Regions from separate parts of the Homo sapiens genome. Here all the other regions are linked to region 1. The links are contacts of gene promoters, found by promoter capture Hi-C in human tissues and cell types (Jung and others, 2019). All regions are on one chromosome and are shown on one strand. The core of a region is centred on a gene start or on the middle of the fragment in contact, and the rest is flanking DNA. Distances in the headings are between cores, read along the strand shown. Region 1 holds the start of C9orf152 (chromosome 9 open reading frame 152). Region 2 has its middle 110 kb from the start of PALM2AKAP2-AS1. Region 3 has its middle 96 kb from the start of MIR3927. Region 4 has its middle 79 kb from the start of MIR3927.

Region 1 (2,808 bases), core at 298-2,797:
AGACAGAGAGGTCCCTCTGGCCCCTGATTCCTGCCCAGTCTGGCCTGGCAAAGGGCAGCCCAAAGAGTCTACTGAACTCTACAAATAACCACAGAATCCCACAGAGCCCAGCTTTGACCTTTCAGGGTATCTTCCCTTCTCCCTCAACCTGTTCCTCTGTTAGAGGAGGAAGGGCTGGGATTTGACATGCCCTTGCTTTCTGAGCCCTGTGCCTCTAACTCCCTCCTGGAATGAAATCTGAGTTCCTAAAGGGAGGAGGTTTCTCCCCATGAGGGGGTTTCTGTGTCCAATCACACCTCCCTGCCTGATGTTTGAGGCTGGATGAGCCTGGGATGCCTCATGGGTCTCTGAGCCCTAGGCGTCCTCTGGCCCAGACAGTTCCCAGGCTGTTGGGAACGCCATGTCTTCTACCTCCAGAGTGAATTTCTCTGGTTTGTAGGAGGTGCCTTAGTTAGACCCAGCCAGGAAGCAGAGCTCCTATCGCCATACCTGGGCTAGCAGGGGGGCCAAGCCTGGCTCACCAGGCTGACCAGTCTAGCAAGATTAGAACATCAGAGCAGAGGCCAGGAACAGTGCTGGCAGCCAGGTGCTTGGCTGAGGCCCCTGGCTCCCTTAGCAGGTGGGACAGCTGAGCAGAGCTGCCCTGAGCCCGCCTCCCCTGCTCTTCCCCACTGGGAGGGAGGGCTGGCAAAGCCCTGGCTCTGCCTCCCTGCAGCTCTGCCACTCAGGTCTCCCATGGTAAGTCTCTCCTTCCCCAGCACCTGTCCATTCCTACCTTTTGGAAGCACCAGGAGGTGGGCCTGGGTCCTCTGCTGCCTCTTCAAGCCTTCATACTGGGCTCGCAGGAACTGGATGCTGAGTGGGGGCCCTTTCCCAGGGGCCTGAGTCCTGGAGCCCTCAGCCATTAAGTGAGACCTAAGCTGCCAGAAGTGGGGCAGGGCTGGGCACGGGCAGGGCAACCCCTCCATCCGGATCCGGGAGAAAAGCAAACACAGCTGGGTGGGGCAGGACCTGGGGAGGGGAGAGAGAGGGAGGGGGCAGTGAGGGAGAAGGAGAAGTGACGGGCAAAAGGAGGGTGGAAAGAGGAGTGGGACTGAGGAAGGAGATAGAAAAATAAGGGGGAAGGAGAAAGATGAAGGGGAAGAGGAGGTAGGGATAGGGAGAAATGTGGGGGAGGAGAAAGGTGGGAGACAGTGGCAGTAAGAGGAGAAGGAAATGTCAGAGGAAAGAAGGGGCAGCGAAGGGGGAAAGACTGGAGGAAGGAGGTGATAGTGACAAGCGGGGATTAATGGGGCGAGAGAAGAAAGAGAGGGAGGAAGATGGAGACAGGCAGGAGGAGGCAGGGAAAGGAGTGATGGGGAGTGGGAGACCGAGAAGTAAGGGGAGGACTGGGGGAGCAAAGAGAAAGGCAAGCCCAGCTGCTCAGAGCCCTTCAGGGGGGTCAAGAAGGTGTCTTATTCCAGGTCCTTCCATTGCTTGATCCTAAAGTTTAGAATCCAATTCCCAGTGCCACGGTGAAGTCTCCCCTTTCCTGGCAGAGCTGGGACTGGGGCTGGGGAGTGCTAAGCTCGCGCTCTGCTCACACATTTTGGACTGGAACGTGGCCACTTTTCAGCAAACCTGCCGGTTGGGTTTGCAGTAGTTCAAAGAACACCCTCGGGAGCTTCACAAGGTCGGTGCCTCTGGATGTGTGCCCCGCGGCCACACCCTAAAGAAACCCAGTAGCAAAGATCTCCCCAAGATCTCCACTCAGACCCCAACACACACCCCAGGTGAAAATTCAGCCCTAAAGTCAGCCATGGGACAGAGCCCAGGGGAATCTTGGCCTCGGGCCAGCCCTACCCCTTGGACATTTGGTGCAGCCTCTGCCGTCTCAGCATTCTCCAACCAAGTGGTAAGTTAGGCATCCCCTCACTCTCTGCTTGCCAGCCTCAACATTTCCACATTGCTTTTGAATCCCAGACCCTCTCCCTCTTACACCAGCTTTGACCTAGCCTTGCTGCATTTGGTCAACTAAGTCCCTTTCTATCTTCTCCTATCACGGTGCTTACTGATTACCCAATTACCCAATATGTCTACAGAGGCAATGGAAACAGAGTAGAGCCTGAACCTACAAGACATTTTGGACATTAACCAGACAAGATCTAGTCATTTGATGTGGGGGAGCCGTGGAAGATGGAGAGCAAATCTTCACTGGGTAGTATATGTTAGTTTTGCTAGGGCTGCCATAACGAAATCCCACAAACTGGATGTCTTAAACAACAAACATTATTGTCTCAGAGTTCTGGAGGTTAGAAGTCCAAAGTCAAGGTGTGAGCAGGGTTGGTTTCTTCTTGGAGCTGTGTGAGAGTATCTGTTCCATGCCTCTCACCTTGCTTCTGATGGTTTGCTAGCAATCTCTGGTATTCTTTGGCTTGCAAAAACATTGCCTAATCTCTGCCTTTATCTTGACATGATGTTCTTCCTTTTTATTTTTTTATTTTATTTTTTTTTTGAGAGGGAGTCTCACTCTGTCGCCCAGGCTGGAGTGCAGTGGCGTAATCTCAGCTCACTGCAAGCTCTGCCTCCCGGGTTCGCATCATTCTCCTGCCTCAGCCTCCCGAGTAGCTGGGACTACAGGCACCCGCCACCGCGCCCAGCTAATTTTTTGTATTTTTCGTAGAGACAGGGTTTCACCGTGGTCTCGATCTCCTGACCTTGTGATCCGCCCGCCTTGGCCTCCCAAAGTGCTGGGATTACAGGCGTGAGCCACCACACCCGGCCTAATATGATGTTCTTCCTATGTGGGTGTCTCTGTGCCCAATTTTC
Region 2 (2,700 bases), core at 143-2,642, 540 kb before region 1:
TTCTCTCCTTGTATTTGATTCTTCTCTCCTTTCTTCTTTATTAGTTTGGCTAGCGGTCTACCAATTTTGTTGATCTTTTCAAAAACAAGCTTCCGGATTCATTGATTTTTTGAAAGGTTTTTTGTGTCTCTATCTCTTTCAGTTCTGCTCTGATCTTAGTTATTTCTTGCCTTCTGCTAGCTTTTGAATGTGTTTGCTTGCTTCTCTAGTTCTTTTAATTGTGATGTTAGGGTGTTGATTTTAGATCTTTCCTGCTTTCTCTTGTGGGCATTTAGTGCTATAAATTTCCCTCTACACACTGCTTTAAATGTGTCCCAGAGATTCTGGTACACTGTGTCTTTGTTCTCATTGGTTTCAAAGAACTTCTTTATTTCTGCCTTCACTTTCTTATTTACCCAGTAGTCATTCAGGAGCAAGTTGTTCAGTTTCCATGTAGTTGTGTGGTTTTGAGTGAGTTTCTTAATCCTGAGTTCTAATTTGATTGCACTGTGGTCTGACAGACAGTTTGTTGTGATTTCTGTTCTTTTACATTTGCTGAGGAGGGCTTTACTTCTAATTATGTGGTCAATTTTATAATAAGTGTGATGTGGTGCTAAGAAGAATGTATATTCTGTTGATTTGGGGTGGAGAGTTCTGTAGATGTCTATTAGGTCTGCTTGTTGCAGAGCTGAGTTCAGGTCCTGGATATCCTTGTTAACCTTCCATCTCATTGATCTGTCTGATATTGACAGTGGGGTGTTATAGTCTCCCATTATTATTGTGTGGGAGTCTAAGTCTCTTTGTAGGTCTCTAAGGACTTGCTTTATGACTCTGGGTGCTGCTGTATTGGGTGCATATCTATTTAGGATAGTTAGGTCTTCTTGTTGAATTGATCCCTTTACCATTATGTAATGGCCTTCTTTGTCTCTTTTGATCTTTGTTGGTTTAAAGTCTGTTTTATCAGAGACTAGGATTGCAACCCCTGCCTTTTTTTTGTTTTTCATTTGCTTGGTAGATCTTCCTCCATCCGTTTATTTTGAGCCTGTGTGTGTCTTTGCACGTGAGATGGGTGTCCTGAATACAACACACTGATGGGTCTTGACTCTTTCTCCAATTTGCCAGTCTGTGTCTTTTAATTGGGGCATTTAGCCCATTTACATTTAATGTTAATATTGTTATGTGTGTATTTGATTCTGTCATTATGATATTTGCTGGTTATTTTGCCCATTAATTGATGCAGTTTCTTCATAGCATTGATGGTCTTTACAGTTTTGCCTGTTTTTGCGGTGGCTGGTACCGGTTGTTTCTTTCCATGTTTAGTGCCTCCTTCAGGAGCTCTTGTAAGGCAGGCCTGGTGGTGACAAAATCTCTCAGCATTTGCTTCTCTGTAAAGGATTTTATTTCTCATTCACTTTTGAAGCTTGGTTTGACTGGATATGAAATTCTGGGTTGAAAATTCTTTTCTTTAAGAATGTTGAATATTGGTCCCCACTCTCTTCTGGCTTGTAGAGTTTCTGCTAAGAGATCTGCTGTTAGTCTGATGGGCTTCCCTTTGTGGGTAACTCAACCTTTCTCTCTGGCTGCCCTTAACACTTTTTCCTTCATTTCAACCTTGGTGAATCTGACAATTATGTGTGTTGGGGTTGCTCTTCTTGAGGAGTATCTTTGTGGTGTTCTCTGTATTTCCTGAATTTGAGTGTTGGCCTGCCTTGCTATGTTGGGGAAGTTCTCCTGGATAATACCCTGAAGAGTGTTTTACAACTTGGTTCCATTCTCCCCATCACTTTCTGGTACACCAATCAAATGTAGTTTGGTCTTTTCACATAGTCCCATATTTCTTGGAAGCTTTGTTTGTTCCTTTTTGCTCTTTTTTCTCTAACTTTATCACTTCATTTCATTAATTTGATCTTCAGTCACTGATACCCTTTCTTCCACTTGATTGAATCGGCTATTGAAGCTTGTGCATGTGTCACAAAGTTCTCGTGCCAAGGTTTTCAGCTCCATCAGGTCATTTAAGTTCTTCTCTACAGTGTTTGTTCTAGTTAGTCGTTCATCTAATCTTTTTTCAAAGTTTTTGGCTTCCTTGCGATGGGTTCGAACCTCCTCCTTTAGCTCTGAGAAGTTTGTTATTACCGACCTTCTGAAGCCTCCTTCTGTCAACTCGTCAAAGTCATTCTCCGTCCATCTTTGTTCCATTGCTGGCAAGTACCCGCGCTCCTTTGGAGGAGAAGAGGCGTTCTGATTTTTAGAATTTTCAGCTTTTCTCCTCTGGTTTCTACCCATCTTGTTGGTTTTATCTACCTTTGGTCTTTGATATTGGTGACCTACAGATGGGGTTTTGGTGTAGATGACCTTTTTGTTGATGTTGATGCTATTCCTTTCTGTTTGTTAGTTTTCCTTCTAACAGTCAGGTCCTTTAGATGCAGGTCTGTTGGAGTTTGCTAGAGTTGCACTCCGGACACTGTTTGCCTGGGTATCGCCAGCGGAGGCTGCAGAACAGCAAATATTGCTGCCTGATCCTTCCTCTGGAAGCTTTGTCCCAGAGGGGCAGCCGCCTATATGAGGTGTCTGTTTACCCCTACTGGGAGGTGTCTCCCAGTTAGGCTACGTGGCGGTCAGGGACCCACTTGAGGAGGCAGTCTGTCCGTTGTTGGAGCTCAAATGCTGTGCTGGGAGAACCACTGCTCTCTTCAGAGCTGTCAGACTGGGACGTTTAAATCT
Region 3 (2,841 bases), core at 323-2,822, 600 kb before region 1:
AATATTGAAATCAAGCCAATTAATAACACTGCAATGTTCAAGTGTAAAAAAGTGTTTCACATCTCTCACTTTCAATCAAAAGCTAGAAATGATTAAGCTTAGTAAGCAAGACATGTCAAAAGCTGAGATAGGCCAAGAGCTAGGCCTCTTGCACCAAAAAGTTAGCCAAGTTCTGAGTGCAAAGAAAAGTTCTCAAAGGAAATTAAAAGTGCTACTCCATTGAACACACAAATGATAAGAAGGCGAAACAGCCTTATTGCAGATATGGAGAAAGCTTTAGTGGACTGGACAGAAGATCAAAGCAGCCACAACATTCCCTTAAGCCAAAGCCTAATCCTTAGCAAGGCATTAACTCTCCTCAATTCTATGAAGGCTGAGAGAGGTGAAGAAGCTGCGGAAGAAAAATTTGAAGCTAACAGAGGTTGATTAATGAGGTTTAAGGAAAGCAGCTGTCTCTATAACAGAAAAGTATAAGGGGAAGCAGCAAGTGCTGATGTAGAAACTGCAACATTGTCCAGAAGATCTATCTAAGATCACTGATGGAACTGGCTACACTAAACTACAGATTTTCAGTGGAGACAAAACAGCCTTCTGTTGGAAGAAGATGCCATGTAAGACTTTCATAGCTATAGAAGAGAAGTCAATGTCTGGCTTCAAATCTTCAAAGGACATGCTGACTCTTGTTAGGGGCTAATGCAACTGGCGTCTTTAAGTAGAAGCCAATGATTATTTACCATTCCGAAAATCTCAGAGCCCTTAAGAATTATGCTAAATCTGCTCCGCCTGGGCTCTCTATAAATGGAACAATAAAACATGATAATAGCACATCTGTTTACGTCATGGTTTACTGAATATTTTAAGCCCACCGTTGAAACTTACTGTTCAAAAAAAGATTCATTTCAAAATATTACTGCCCACTGACAATGTACTTAGTCACCTAAGAGCTCTGATGGAGATGTATGAGATTGATGTTGTTTTCATGCCTGATAACACAACATACATTCTGCAGCCCATAGATCCAAGAGTAAGTTTTACTTTCAAGTCTTCTTATTTAAGAAATACACTTTATAAGGCTAGAGCTCCCACAGACAGTGATTCCTCTGATGGATCTGGGCAAAGTAAATTGAGAACCTTCTGGAAAGAACTCACCATCCTAGATGCCATTAAGAGCATTCGTAATCCAGCCAGGCGTGGTGGCTCATGCCTGTAATCCCAGCACTTTGGGAGGCCAAGGTGGGCAGATCACAAGGTCAAGAGATAGAGACCATCCTGGCCAACATGGTGAAACCCCGTCTCTACTAAAAATACAAAAATTAGCTGGGCATGGTGGCATGTGCCTGTAATCCCAGCTACTTGGGGGGCTGAGGCAGGAGAATCGCTTGAACCTGGGAGGTGGAGGTTGCAGTGAGCTGAGATCGCACCACTGCATTCCAGCCTGGCCACAGAGCGAGGCTCCGTCTAAAAACAAAAAAAAAAAAACAAAACAAAACAACAACAAAAAAAGAACATTTGTAATCCATGGGGGGTCAAAATATCAACATCAACAGGAGTTTGGAAGAAGTTGATTATTCAACTCTCATGGATGACTTTGAGCAGTTCAAGACTTCAGGGGAGGAAGTCACTGTAGATGTGGTGGAAATGATGAGAACTAAGAATTAGGAGTGGAGCCTAAAGGTGTGACTGAATTGCTGCAATCTCATGATTAAAACCTGAATGGACAAGAAGTTGCTTCTTATGGCTGAGCAAAGAAAGTGGTTTCTTGAGATAAAATATACTCCTGATGAAGATGCTGTGAACATTGTTGCAATGACAACAAAGGATTTAGAATATTACATAAACTTAGTTGATAAAGCAGCATCCGGATTTGAGCGGATTGACTCCAATTTTGAAAAAATTTCTACTGTGGGTAAAATGCTATCAAGGAGCATTGCATGCTACAGAGAAATCTTTCATGAAGGAAGAATCAATCAGTGTGGCAAACTTTATTGTTGTCTCATTTTAAGAAATTGCCACAATCACTTTAACCTTCAGCAGCCACGACCTGATCAGTCAGAAGCCATTAACAAGACCCTCCACCAGCGAAGATACTGTGAAGATATTGTATGACTTGTTGAAGGCTCACATGATGACTAGCTTTTTTTTTCTTTTTTTCTTTTTTTAGCAATAAGGCATTTTAAAATTAAGCTCTGTACTTTTAGCAAAGACAATTATATTGCAAACTTAATAGACTACAGTATAGTATAAACATAACTTTTATATACACTGGAAAACCAAAAAATTAGTGTGACTTGCTTATTATGATAATCATTTTATTGTGGTGGTCTAGAACTGAACCCACAATATCTGCAAGGTTTGCCTGTACCACAAACTTCATGACTTAAAGCAACACAGATGAATTCTCTTATGAATCTAGAGATTAGAAGTCTGAAATCAAGATGTCAGCAGGGCCATGCTCCCTTCCTTTCTTCCTTCTTTCCTTCCTTCTTTCCTTCCTTCCTTCCTTCCTTCCTTCCTTCCTTCCTTCCTTCCTTCCCTCCTTCTTTCCTTCCTTCCTTCCCTCCTCCCTTTTTTCCTATTATTCAACAAATATTTGTCATATGCCAACTATGTGGCAGAGACTGAATTCGGAGAATTAGGGAGATATAGGAGGCAGCTTTTAGCTGATTAAGAAAGGACTTTATAATGCTCAGACCTTCCCAGAGACAACAATTACCATTTGTACCAAAACTTTGCAATTTACAAATTGCCTGTTTGCACATATGACCTTATTTTCCCTTCACAGCAATGCGCAATGGTAGGCACTATTATTATCTTCATCAATCAAGAACCTGAGCTTTAACA
Region 4 (2,768 bases), core at 243-2,742, 620 kb before region 1:
ACTGATTTTCCTGTGCCTCTATGCACACTCTCATGGCAGGCAGGGGTAGTTTGGGCTGAGACGAGATCTTGGCTTTTTTTCTCAGCATATTCTGGACCAAGCACTGACTGTTTTTAAACACTATTTTAGTTGAATCTAGGTTGACCTGGCTCTTCTACAAGCATGTAAATGCTGAAGAGAACACACCAGGGCTTGAGGGGGGGAGTGATCTATGGGTAGGGCAGGGCCACTTTCTTTTTGCCTTGCAAGGAGTTCTCTCACTGTTCTTTAAGGTGCTTTGGGCAATGAACCTGGAGAATCAGCTTCATGCTTATCTTGGACTGAAGAGTTGCCAGCTGTTCATTTATCCTCTCTGCTTATTGATCCATTTGATGCCTGTCAGGTGCCTATGCATTGCTTGCATTCCCTGGGTTGATTATGCGTTTGACTCTGATGGAGATCCCATTATTTGTTTTTCTGCAGGAGATTAAGTAAATGTCTAGAGCTGGAATAATGGAGAGGGCAAAGAAGGTGAGGCAGGAATAGAGAGTTGAGATTCTGTTTTGCATCTTCCTTGCTTGCTACAGTGCACTTGGCATAAGGGGATTTATTTCTGTCTTCTGTATTCTGTCCCATTGGTTTATGTGTCTTTTTATGCCACTACCGTTCTGTTTTGATTATTATAGCTTTGTAGTATATTTTGAAGTCAGATAGCATGATACCTCTAGCTTTATTTTTGTTCAGGATTGCTTTGGCTTTTTGGGGTCTTTTGTAGTTTCATACAAATTTTAGGACAGTTTTTCCTATATCTGTGAAGAATGTCATTGGTATTTTAATAGGGATCACATTGAATCTGTAGATCGCTTTGGGTAATGTGGTCATTTTGACAACATTAATTCTTCTGATCCATCAATATGGAATGTCTTTCCATTTTTTGTGTGTGTCTTCAATTTTTTCATCAGCGTTTTACAGTTAAGTAGAGATCTTTCACCTGCTTGGTTAAGTTTATTCTTAGATATTTGTTTTGTAGCTATTGTAAATGGGATTGCTTTCTTGATTTCTTTTTTAGCTAGTTTGTTACTGGTATACAGAATTGCTACTGATTTATGCATGCTGATTTTGTATCCTGCAACTTTACTGAATTCATTTATCAGTTCTTTTTTTTTTTTTTTTTTTGAAACAGAGTCTTGCTCTATTACCTAGGCTGGAGTTGGAGTGCAGTGGCTCAATCTTGGCTCACTGCAACCTCCACCTTCCAGGTTCAAGTGATTCTCGTGCCTCAGCCTTCTGAGTAGCTGGGACTACAGGCTCACGCCACCATGCCTGGCTAATTTTTTGTATTTTTAGTAGAGACAGGGTTTTGCCATGTTGGCCAGGCTGGTCTCCAACTCCTGACCTCAAGTGATCTACCCACTTCAGCCTCCCAAAGTGTTGGATTACAGGCGTGAGCCACCACTCCCGGCCTCAGTTATCAGTTCTAAGAGTTCTGGAGTCTTTAGGTTTTTCTATATAAATGTTGTCTGCACACTGGGACAATTTGACTTTCTCTTTTCCAGTTTGGATGCTCTTTATTCTTTCTCTTGTTTAATTGCTCTGGTTAGGACTTCTAGTACTATATTGATTAAGAGTGGTGAACTACAGTCTTCTCTTTAAGCTTAGAGTTCCCACTCCATCTTTGGGATTTAGCACATGTTCACCAAAGAAAAAAAACCCAGTCACGTTTTGTGTCCTGTAAAATCTGACACCTTGGCCTTCAGCTAGTGTTTAATTGAACCTCTCCTGAGTCCACTAGCCTCCAGGGCACATCTCATGTGAGTTCCTCCATTGAACTGTCAGCACTTTTGGCCACCTCTAATCCTCTGCTGTGAGTTTCTCTCCTGCCTTCAGAGGAGTCTCTTGATCCCTTTGCCTATGAGACTTCATAAAGTAGTGCCTCAACTCTGCCGCTGCTGTGAGCACTCATGGTGGGATGCTGATGTTCATGGCAAGGGGTCTGTCTCCTAGGGCTGCTGAAGCTGCCAACTCTTGAAGTGCTCCTGTGTTGTCCCTGCACTGCCTGGCAGTGTTCTGGCCAGGAGTGGGGAAGAGGTTTCCTTCCCACTCTGGGCCATACTTTGCCTGTGGTCTGATTTTTAGTTCAGGTTTAATCTACAAAGAAAATATGTGCTGGGCTGGCTCAGGCCCAAGCCAACACCAAAGTCTCGAGCCAATGCCAGCGCACAGTCACCAGGCTAGTGGCATGTTCATGTAGGGGCCTGGATCCCTGGCGGTGGAGTCCTATGACCACACGGATAAAATGGGCTGAGATGACAGTGAGTGATGGCTCCACTAAGAGCTGTCTCCATCAGGATGTCTGCTCTTCTCATCACAAAAGAGATAATACACAAGGTATTTGCTTTTCCTGGCGCAAAGCAGAAACTATTACTTGAAAGTTTCTGACATGCAGACTTAATGGTGCCAGTCACTTTGTGGCTGCTTAGTAAATATTTATCCAAAAAATTGCAAGGCCAAAAAATATGTCTAGTAGCCTGTGTTCTCATAGCAGAAACTTCTATTGCATTTCTGCTTTTGACTGGGAAGAAGGTTCCAGAACAGACAGTCCCATCTCTAAGTAAATCTAGCAGGAGAAGCAGTAACTTAGACAGGGAAAGCTGAAATCACAATAAAAGAATCCATCCAACAGCAACTCATGAATTTTTGAGAGGAGCTAGAGGAGCTACTCTGAGGGAGATTTTCTCTTGTGTTTCAAACCATTTCTGACCCCTGACTTAGCGAATCATTATGTTTCA

The links. The method cuts DNA at HindIII sites, captures the fragments that hold promoters and counts their contacts. A contact is called where the count stands out against the background at its distance.
Region 2: a fragment that was not itself captured here is called in contact with the fragment with the promoter of C9orf152 in region 1 in 1 of the 25 tissues and cell types used here (dorsolateral prefrontal cortex).
Region 3: a contact is called between a fragment that was not itself captured here and the fragment with the promoter of C9orf152 in region 1, in 2 of the 25 tissues and cell types used here (IMR-90 fibroblasts and lymphoblastoid cells).
Region 4: a contact is called between a fragment that was not itself captured here and the fragment with the promoter of C9orf152 in region 1, in 1 of the 25 tissues and cell types used here (lymphoblastoid cells).

The regions. Positions count from the first base shown.
Region 1 is chr9:110,206,612-110,209,419 of GRCh38, forward strand. C9orf152 (chromosome 9 open reading frame 152) reads right to left here and starts at 1,548. Exons shown (of 2, transcript NM_001012993.3): 1 at 776-1,548. The coding sequence starts at 968. RefSeq lists enhancers at 217-717, 718-1,218. The HindIII fragment of the contact is 9,571 bases long and covers 1-2,808 here.
Region 2 is chr9:109,663,051-109,665,750 of GRCh38, forward strand. It overlaps a transcript of PALM2AKAP2 not described here. Among named protein-coding and RNA genes, the nearest start is that of PALM2AKAP2-AS1, 110 kb to the right of the region's middle. The HindIII fragment of the contact is 3,209 bases long and covers 1-2,700 here.
Region 3 is chr9:109,605,721-109,608,561 of GRCh38, forward strand. No RefSeq gene overlaps it. Among named protein-coding and RNA genes, the nearest start is that of MIR3927, 96 kb to the left of the region's middle. The HindIII fragment of the contact is 6,131 bases long and covers 1-2,841 here.
Region 4 is chr9:109,588,925-109,591,692 of GRCh38, forward strand. No RefSeq gene overlaps it. Among named protein-coding and RNA genes, the nearest start is that of MIR3927, 79 kb to the left of the region's middle. The HindIII fragment of the contact is 9,387 bases long and covers 1-2,768 here.